Regions from separate parts of the Homo sapiens genome. Here all the other regions are linked to region 3. The links are contacts of gene promoters, found by promoter capture Hi-C in human tissues and cell types (Jung and others, 2019). All regions are on one chromosome and are shown on one strand. Each heading gives the region's core, a stretch centred on a gene start or on the middle of the fragment in contact. The rest is flanking DNA. Distances are from core to core; before and after follow the strand shown. Region 1 overlaps RNF213 (ring finger protein 213). Region 2 holds the start of CBX8 (chromobox 8). Region 3 holds the start of TBC1D16 (TBC1 domain family member 16).

Evidence for each region. Contacts are between HindIII fragments. The study calls those that stand out against the background at their distance.
Region 1: a contact is called between a fragment that was not itself captured here and the fragment with the promoter of TBC1D16 in region 3, in 1 of the 25 tissues and cell types used here (pancreas).
Region 2: a contact is called between a fragment that was not itself captured here and the fragment with the promoter of TBC1D16 in region 3, in 2 of the 25 tissues and cell types used here (hippocampus and thymus).

What each region holds. Positions count from the first base shown.
Region 1 is chr17:80,270,482-80,273,181 of GRCh38, forward strand. All of the region lies in intron 2 of RNF213 (ring finger protein 213), which reads left to right. Among named protein-coding and RNA genes, the nearest start is that of RNF213, 11 kb to the left of the region's middle. RefSeq lists a silencer at 618-667. The HindIII fragment of the contact is 4,608 bases long and covers 1-2,700 here.
Region 2 is chr17:79,795,004-79,797,703 of GRCh38, forward strand. It overlaps CBX8 (chromobox 8), which reads right to left and starts at 2,074. Exons shown (of 5, transcript NM_020649.3): 1 at 1,927-2,074; 2 at 1,494-1,537; 3 at 1,247-1,312; 4 at 1,054-1,120; 5 at 1-555. The coding sequence starts at 1,995. RefSeq lists enhancers at 119-859, 2,107-2,401 and silencers at 1,773-2,152, 2,313-2,522, 2,553-2,700. The HindIII fragment of the contact is 6,409 bases long and covers 1-2,700 here.
Region 3 is chr17:80,034,612-80,037,311 of GRCh38, forward strand. TBC1D16 (TBC1 domain family member 16) reads right to left here and starts at 1,261. Exons shown (of 12, transcript NM_019020.4): 1 at 1,184-1,261. It overlaps CCDC40 (coiled-coil domain 40 molecular ruler complex subunit), which reads left to right and starts at 2,031. Exons shown (of 20, transcript NM_017950.4): 1 at 2,031-2,080. The coding sequence starts at 2,052. RefSeq lists a silencer at 1,260-1,329 and enhancers at 1,520-1,639, 2,539-2,700. The HindIII fragment of the contact is 13,824 bases long and covers 1-2,700 here.

The sequences.
Region 1 (2,700 bases), core at 60-2,559, 240 kb after region 3:
CCTGCCTTCTAGATTTCTATTCAGATTCTCTCCAGCGTTCAGAATGATGGATCTTGTCAATCTGTGCCGGTCGTTGGGTGGAAATGGCACTGCAGGGCCTCCGTTCTGATTTCCTTCATCAGTAGGCATGGCAGGCATCTCTTTGGAAGTTAAGAGACCACATGTATGTGTATTTCCTTGAGCGGCCTGTCTGTCTTTAGGGAAGCTCGTTTTGCTTTGGTTGGTCCTTATGATTGTTGGGACTGTTTATACTGGGAACAGCCTGAAACCCAGCTCTCCTAGGCTTGCTCAGCAAGAGAAACGTGCTGGGTCACCGTTGCCCAAGTCCAGGCTTGAGGGGTTCAAGTGTACTAGGGCTTTGCTCCATTTCTCTGATCCTGACAGCTCTGCCCTTCTCCACTGCCAGCTTTGTCTGCAGGTGGAGGAGAACAGACAGTGGTTTCCCAGCACCACCTCATGGTCTTTCCAGGATGCACTGAGTGGCAGAAACCCCAGTAAGGGTCCAGAAGTATGGATGCTTCCATACTTCTTGCTGGTTGGCCCTTCCCTTAGTCAATCACTAGTGCCAGGGTAAATATCGGCCCTGATTGGATTAGGCTAGTCAGGGCCCGCCCCTGGTGGGAGGGTAGGTTGGTGGGAGGGTAGGTTGGTGGGAGGGGCAGGCTCAGAATCCCTGGTTGTAGGTGAAACAGCAGCTCTCGAAGGATGGGGCCTTGGGTCGCCTGTTGCAGATCTTTCTCCAGCTCTTACTTTCTGGCTGTGATGTTTCATGTGTGTCTTATGTATGTAGACGTTTAGAGGATTTGTTATCAATTTTGAGTCCTGCTAAGGAACTTCACGAATTCTTGAGCTCTTGGCTACGCCAACACTGAGTACTCAAAGGGAAAAAGGTCTGCGTGGTCCCTGCCCTCCAGATCTCAGAGGAGGAGAGGGCAGTGACGAAACCAGGTGCTGGAAACGGGCGTGGGGATGAAGTGTCCAGACAGGGGCGCAGCTGGGACTGGCTTGGGGCCTTGGAGAAGGGTCTGTGGGGATCAGGCAGAGGGAAGGTTCTGTACAGAAAAGCAGGCTTGGCCTGGCACCATCTGGAGTGTGTGTCAGGGAGAGGTGGGGTCGTCCAGACCCAGGATTGAAAACAGGGACTCCTTGAAGGGTGTTTTCGTCCATTTTCTGTTGCCATAAGAGTACCCGAGCCTGGGTAATTGAAAAAGAAAAGGCCGGGTGTGGTGGCTCAAGCCTGTAATCCCAGCACTTTGGGAGGCCGAGGTGGGCGGATCACGAGGTCAGGAGTTCAAGACCAGCCTGACCAACATGGTGAAACCCCGTCTCTACTAAAAATACAAAAAAAATTAGCTGGGTGTGGTGGCGCATGCCTGTAATCCCAGCTACTCCAGAGGCTGAGGCAGGAGAATCACTTGAACCCAGGAGGTGGAGGTTGCAGTGAGCCGAGATTGCACCACTGCACTCCAGCCTGGGTGACAGAGCGAGACTCCGTCTCAAAAAAGAAGAAAAAAGAAAAGAGGCCGGGTGGGGTGGCTCACACCTGTAATCCCAGCACTTTGAGAGGGCAAGACGGGTGGATCATGAGGTCAGGAGTTCAAGACCATCCTGGCCAAGATGCTGAAACCCCTGTCTCTACTAAAAACACAAAAATTAGCCGGGTGTGGTGGCATGCACCTGTAATCCCAGCTACTTGGGAGGCCGAGGCAGGAGAATTGCTTGAACCTGGGAGGCAGAGGTTGCAGTGAGCCAAGATTGTGCCTCTGCACTCCAGCCTGGGCGACAGAGCAAGACTCTGTCTCAAAAAAAATAATAAAATAAAATAAAAAAAGAAAAAGAAAAAAGAGGTTTATTTAGCTCACAGTTCTGCAGACTGAGAAGTTCAGGGCCTGGCCCTGATGTCTGGTGAGGGCTTTTGTGCCACATGGCAGAGTAGGCCGACGGGGATGCTGACAGCTGTGAAAGACTAAGCCTGATGGGACATCTTGACTTCATAACAACCCACCTGGCGGGTGCTAATCCATTCCCGAGGGGAGTAAACAAGCCTCTCAAGAGTAAACCCATGACCGCAAACGGCACCAAGCCATTCGTGAGGGATTTGCCCTCACGACCCACAGACCTCCCCGCAGCCCTGCCTCCCAGCACTGGCATACTGGGGATCAACATGAGTTTTGGTGGGGATGGACAAAGTGCGTCCACACCACAATGAAGGCTAGAGTGAGTGTGGGGCTGGCAGAGTGGGTGCTCCATGCTGTCTGCATGGCAGCTCTGCATGGGTGAGAATCTGGAGGCAGAGCAGCTGGGCGGGCAGATGCCTTAGTGCCAGGACAAGGGAAGCAGTTTGAGACCCCTGGGCCGCCACTGGGAGAATGCCCACCCTGGGGAAGACAGGAGGAATGTCTACAGTAGGGGAGGAAAGCGTAACAGGCTCTGTTTTAGAGGTGCCCGAGGTGCGCTGACATCCTAGTACAGAGTCAGGTGAATCCACTCGTGGACATTGGGAGGAAGAGGCTGGATGCTAGGACGGCACAGTCTTTCTGTCTGATTCACCCCTTGTTGTGCTGAAACTGGGGTCCCTGGTTCCCTCCTACCCACCTGGAGCAGAACCCCTACCCTGCTCATGTTAGCAGGCCCAATGCAGGACCTCGGAGGGAGAACAGGGTGAATCTCTCCATGCACTCGTGGGGAGGATTTCTGTTT
Region 2 (2,700 bases), core at 59-2,558, 240 kb before region 3:
GCTAGGGCTGGTCACACCACACTGCACCAGGTCCGAGTCCTGTCTTCGGGCCAGCTGGATCACACTGTGGCCGGCTGGAAACTTTCCTGCCCCGGAAGGGGTGTCGTCCAGCTTCCTGCCCTTGAGGTACTCTCCGAGGCCGGCGCTGGGTTCGCCTAAGGGCCTCTGTGAGGGGTCCGGGAGCTCCTTCCGGGGCTTGGGGCCTCGCTTCTTCGAGCTGTCCCCCGGTGAGCTGGGCTTGTCATCCACTCTGCTGGTACCCCGCTCTCGTTCCCTCTCACGTTCCCGCTCCCTCTCTCGCTCCCTCTCCCTTTCTCGATCCCGCTCCCGGTCCCTATCCCGGTCTCGGTCCCGGTCCCGAGGGGCCTCTGCGCGGCAGGTGCTGCTGGTGCTGGTGCTGCTCGCTGGCGGGGACAAACCCATGTTTCGAAGGCCCTCCCGGGCCCGGGAAGTGGAGGCCAGGTCCTGGGGCGAGCGGCCAGGGTAGGGGATCCGGATGCCCCTGGCTGAGTCACTTCGAAACTCGTAAGTTTTGGCCTTTGCCTTGGCCTGCGCCTGCAGGAGAGAAGATGGTCTCAAGAGTGGGGCAGGGCCCTGTCCACCCCCACAGGACTCCTCCTCTATCCCTGACCTCCTATCTTTACCCTATGATGCCTGGGAATTTCTACATGGATGCATGGATGGGTGGGTGGGTGGGTGGGTGGATGGCTGGATGAATGGGTGGGATGGCTGTTGGAGCTGAGAGGTAGAAGGATGAGAGAAGAGGTAGAAGATTTGGCTGGAAGTAGTCATTTGCAAAAAGTACACTTTTTGCATTTGATTATTGTGTCCATTTGGGAGGGGGAGCGTAAAGGAATTCTAGTGTGGCCAAGCCCGTCCCCCCAGACACAGTTGGTGCTGCTACTGACTTGGTGACATCTTGTCAGGGAACTCCCTCCTACATTACAAATAGGCAACATGTGTGGACACCCCATTGGCTCACAGCCCTCAGAGCCCCCTTCCCACAAATCACTCCATAACATGGTCCTCCACCATTGGACACTGCCAACCTACTTTGAGGAGGAAGGTTTTGGGCTTGGGTCCACGCTTTTTGGGGCCATAGAGCTCCATCTCTCTTTCCCTGGAGAAAGAAGAAAAGGAGAAAGGGTGCGTGAGTAAAGAAAGCAAGTGGGACTCTAGTCCAGGCTGGAAAGAAGCCACTCTACTTGTTTCTAAGTGAGCGGCTGGGACTTGGAAGGGTCTGTACCTTTCCTCAAAGGCTGCGAGCAAGCGAGCATCCAGGATGTTTTCCTCCGGTTCCCATGTGCTGTACCTAAAGGGAATCAGGAAGAAGTGGGCATCAGTCCCAGGAGCAGGGTGAGAGCAGAGGGGGTGTGTGTGTGTGTAACTTTTCTCATTGCATTGTATTGTATTTCAATGTAAAGGCAAAAAGAGGAAGAAAGAAACCTCCCGAATAACAGTCTGGGGTTGAGAATTGCATATAACCTACTTACTTCTGCGACCATCCCTTCCATTTCACGAGGTATTCCATGCGTCCCTGCGGGTGCAAAGGCGATAATGTGTGTGCATGGGGAGAAACGCATGACGAGGATACAAGAAATGCATGCGAAAATGCATGCACCAGATGAATGCTCGAAACCCCGCCGCAAAAGGCACGCGCCCGCTGCATCACCCCTGCACCTAATGCTGCACAAAGTGCATGCACCGGCATTCATTCCCCACCCCGCCCCCCACCCATGCAATCCGTGCATCGCTGCAAGTCTAAGGAAAGCGCCTGGGCTCAGAGCTGCCGCCGCCGCCGCCGCCACGGCCGCGGCCGCTGCTGGGACCTGGGGGAAGGGAAGCTGGGCTGCAGCAGGGGGAGGGAACCCGGGCCGGGAGGGGAGGGCCCGGCCGCACGGAGGCCCTAGGCCCGGGGGCACCTACTTTCCGTATGCGCCGCTTCAGGAGGGCTTCGGCCGCGAACACCCGCTCCCCCACCGCTGAAAGCTCCATGTTGACTCGCCGCTTCCCCCCTTGGCCGCTTCCAGGAGCAGAAAAGCAGCAGCCAGCGCACGACAGACCATAATACTCTCCCGCTGACGTCAGTTCTCCTCCCCCTCCCGGCGCTCTCGCTCCCTCCCGCGGCCCCCCTCCCGCGCTCCTCCGCTCGGCCCCCTCCCCTCCGCCCAGTGCTTCCTCCCGCCCCACGTGTTGCTAACGACGTTGCTAAAGCCGAGCGGCCGGAGGCCTGCGCCCCCGCACGCTGATTGGACGAGCTCCGAGCCACGCCCCTCTGCCTTTCTCCCCCGCGTTGCTACGTGACCAGCGTTCCAATCGCCAGGGGGCGGAGTCCGAGGCGACTCCAGAGACCGAGCGCGCGAGTGGGAGGGGGCGCCGCCGGAAGTGACGCCAGGGGAAGGCGGGCCCGGCCGCTGTCAGTCTGCGGGGCTGGCGAGGGGGGCAGGCCGCCCTCTGTCCTCGCCGGGGCCCCCCTCCCCCGCCACCAAGTTGTCCCTCCGGCGTTCGGCGTCCCCCACAGCTCTCGCTGGGATCCCCGCGGCGATGTCAGCCCGGCTCCGCCCCTCGGCAGACCCCGGCCCGCCGCCCCACCCCCACCGCCCAGGACTCGCGCGGTCCCCTCCCCCAGCCGCCCGCGCCGCACAATGCACAATGCACAGGTGCTGGGGCGCCGCGGGCCGCGCCCGAACCCCGAGAGCC
Region 3 (2,700 bases), core at 11-2,510:
TTAATGAACTTTGTAGTTAATACCAAAAGTTACTCCTCACTTTATTCTTTATTTACAAAAGCTTTCATGGTTCTTAAAAGTGTTTAGTATTCACCAATTTTACTGTTAGCGTTTCTAATGAGGATTTTCTAAAACTGAGGCATGGATTTGAAAAAGTGTTCTGATCAATCAGTAACAGATTTGGAATGGAATCTCCAGCCCCCAGTCTTTGCGCCCACCCTCTGGCAATATGCCGCCTCACGTGAGCATCTTTAAGACGGAGTTCCCTTTTTATTCCAGATAAAAGAATTAGGAGCCTTCTGGTAGAAAAGAAAGCAGATCTTCAGGATCAAGTCGCAGAGGCTGGCCAATCAGCCCAGCTTCTCATTTGAACTTGACCCAGACAGTAAAACAAACTTTACCATAAGGCGAGACTAACTTTTGTTATGTCTTTTCTATTCATTTCCTATTTCTGAATCAAATCTGAACTACTTTGTGGCCAATATACGACACCAGCTTCCGAGTGTGGGAATCACAGGATTTCAGGATTCAGCGGCTTCCGGCAGGATCCCCTAGGTTATGTTTAGCAATCTTCAGTTGCCTTTCCTTTTTTTCTTTCCTTCCTTTCGTTCTTTCTTTCTTTTTCTTTTTTTTTTTTTCCCAAAGGAAAGAACAAGGGAGCCCAGGCGGAACGGAAGTGAGTATCCCGACACGCGGATCTTAAACAGCCCAGACCACCAAGCCCGACAGGCCGGGAAAGCTGAGCGCGCGCTGCTGGGGGGACGCACACTTTGGAGGCTGTGTGGGCGCGCGCCGGCACCCCACAAGTTCTCATCCGTCTGCTCCGCCGATTCAGCCAGACAAAGACCGCAAGTTCCCCGGTCCACCGCTCCAGACAGGCGGGGACCAGTCTCCCCGAATTAGGCCCATTCCGGGCCCGGGCGCCCTCACTCGCCGCGGGGAAAAGTCCCCAGGTGCCCCTCCGTGATCCAGGTCCTCCCACAACGCTCCCGCTCCTGCTGGCGCCCCGCACCCCGAGGACGGCGGCCGGACCCCGGCCCCTCCCCGGTCCCGCGGCTGCAGGCCCACGCGCCCCACGCGCCCCGCGCGCCCCCGCCCCAGCTCCGCCGAGGGGGCGCTGCTCGCTGCGCGGTGGACCCCTCGGACCCCGCCCCCGCGGCCCCGTCCGGGCCCCGATACCCACCCGGGTCCCGCTGCGGGGGCCGGATTCGCGCCGGCTCCGAGAGCCGCCACCGTCGCCTCCGCCGCTGCCGCCGCCAGTGAGGCGCGGCGGGGCGGGGACGCGCGGGGAGGCCCGGCCCCCGGCCCGCCCCCGGGCCCGCCCCCGGCCCGGCCCCTGCCTGCCCCCGCCGGTCTCCCCGCCCACCTTCTGGCCCAGCCCTGGGCCCAAGCCTCTAGTTCCCTGCTGGCCCTCCCTCAGGCCTCGCCGCGTCCCGGCCTCGGGGACTGTGCCCCGTCCCGAGCCTGGCGTCCCCAAAGGAAAGGCAGGGCTCCTCGGACGCTCCGCGTGCGCGCTGGCCCTCCGCTGCCGCCCTCTGCAGGGAGATTTCTCCTATTTCGGACTAGGAAGGGAAGATACGCTCCGGAAGACCCCCCGGGCGTCCATGCAAGGAGTCTCCGTAGGACCCCTGGAGAAGGGCACCGGAGCCCCCTAGGGCAGGAGATGGAAAAGCGCTCGCCATGCGCGGGGTCCCCGGCCCCCGGTGCCCCCAGCCCGCCTGCCATTCCCGGGCGCTTAGCAGTCCGGGGTCCCCAGGTGCCCGGCAGGTCCCTTCGGGACCTCGAGCCGCCCGCTGGGCACACGCTGACGCCGCTGTCGCTTTACAGAAATTGAGCGCAGCCGAGGCGGGACCCGGGCGCAGAGAGCGATAAAGGAAAAGCATGGTCGTGCTCTAATCATTACAGTCTAAGGGACGACACGTCGAGACGGCGCGCGCCTCTGCGTGCGTGGAGATGGCACAAAGGCCGCGCCGCCCCCGGCGGCCCCCGCCCTCGCAGCGCGCGTGGTCCCGGCCCGGCCGGATGTTGACAGCGTCGCCTAGCAACGGGAAATGGCGGAACCGGGCGGCGCGGCGGGCCGGTAAGCCGGGCCGAGGGGCAGCGGGTCTTGGAGTCGCCAGGCCGCGCTCTCCGTTCACCGCTCCAGGTGGCCCCCGCGTCGGCTCCTGCCTCGCCCCTTCGCCTCCACTCCCCCTTCCTCTCGCCTGTGTCCCTTCTCTCGCCATTTTGCTGGCCTTTCCCGTCCACTGCGTTCAGCCCCTCACCCCCCCGCCAACCCTTCTCACTTCTCCCCTCCTGTCCCTTTGTCCTCTCTCGGCCTCCCTCTTTCCCCTACTCCAAGCGCGCGACTCCCTCTAAAACCCGGGACCGCTCACTCTGCAGTCACCATGGCAACCACTCTGCGTGGCGGTCCCTGCGCGCAGTCCTCCTAAGAGTAGAGGGCTCTGCAGGGCGCGGGGCTGTTGGATACCGCCCCTGACCTTGCTCCGGGGCCACTCGCTGTGGCCGGAGACCAGCCCGGCCCCGCGCCTCCCTCCTGCAAGGACAGATCCCCTCTCGCAGGCTTGGGGGTGACCCGCGATGGGAGGGGTCCCTGCGGTTAGGCGGCCCGCGATAGTCCGCGGTCACCGTCCTGGGGCCTGGGTGGAAGCACTGAGCGCGCACAGGGAGGGCGGCTGAGTGAAGATCCCTGCCACCGGG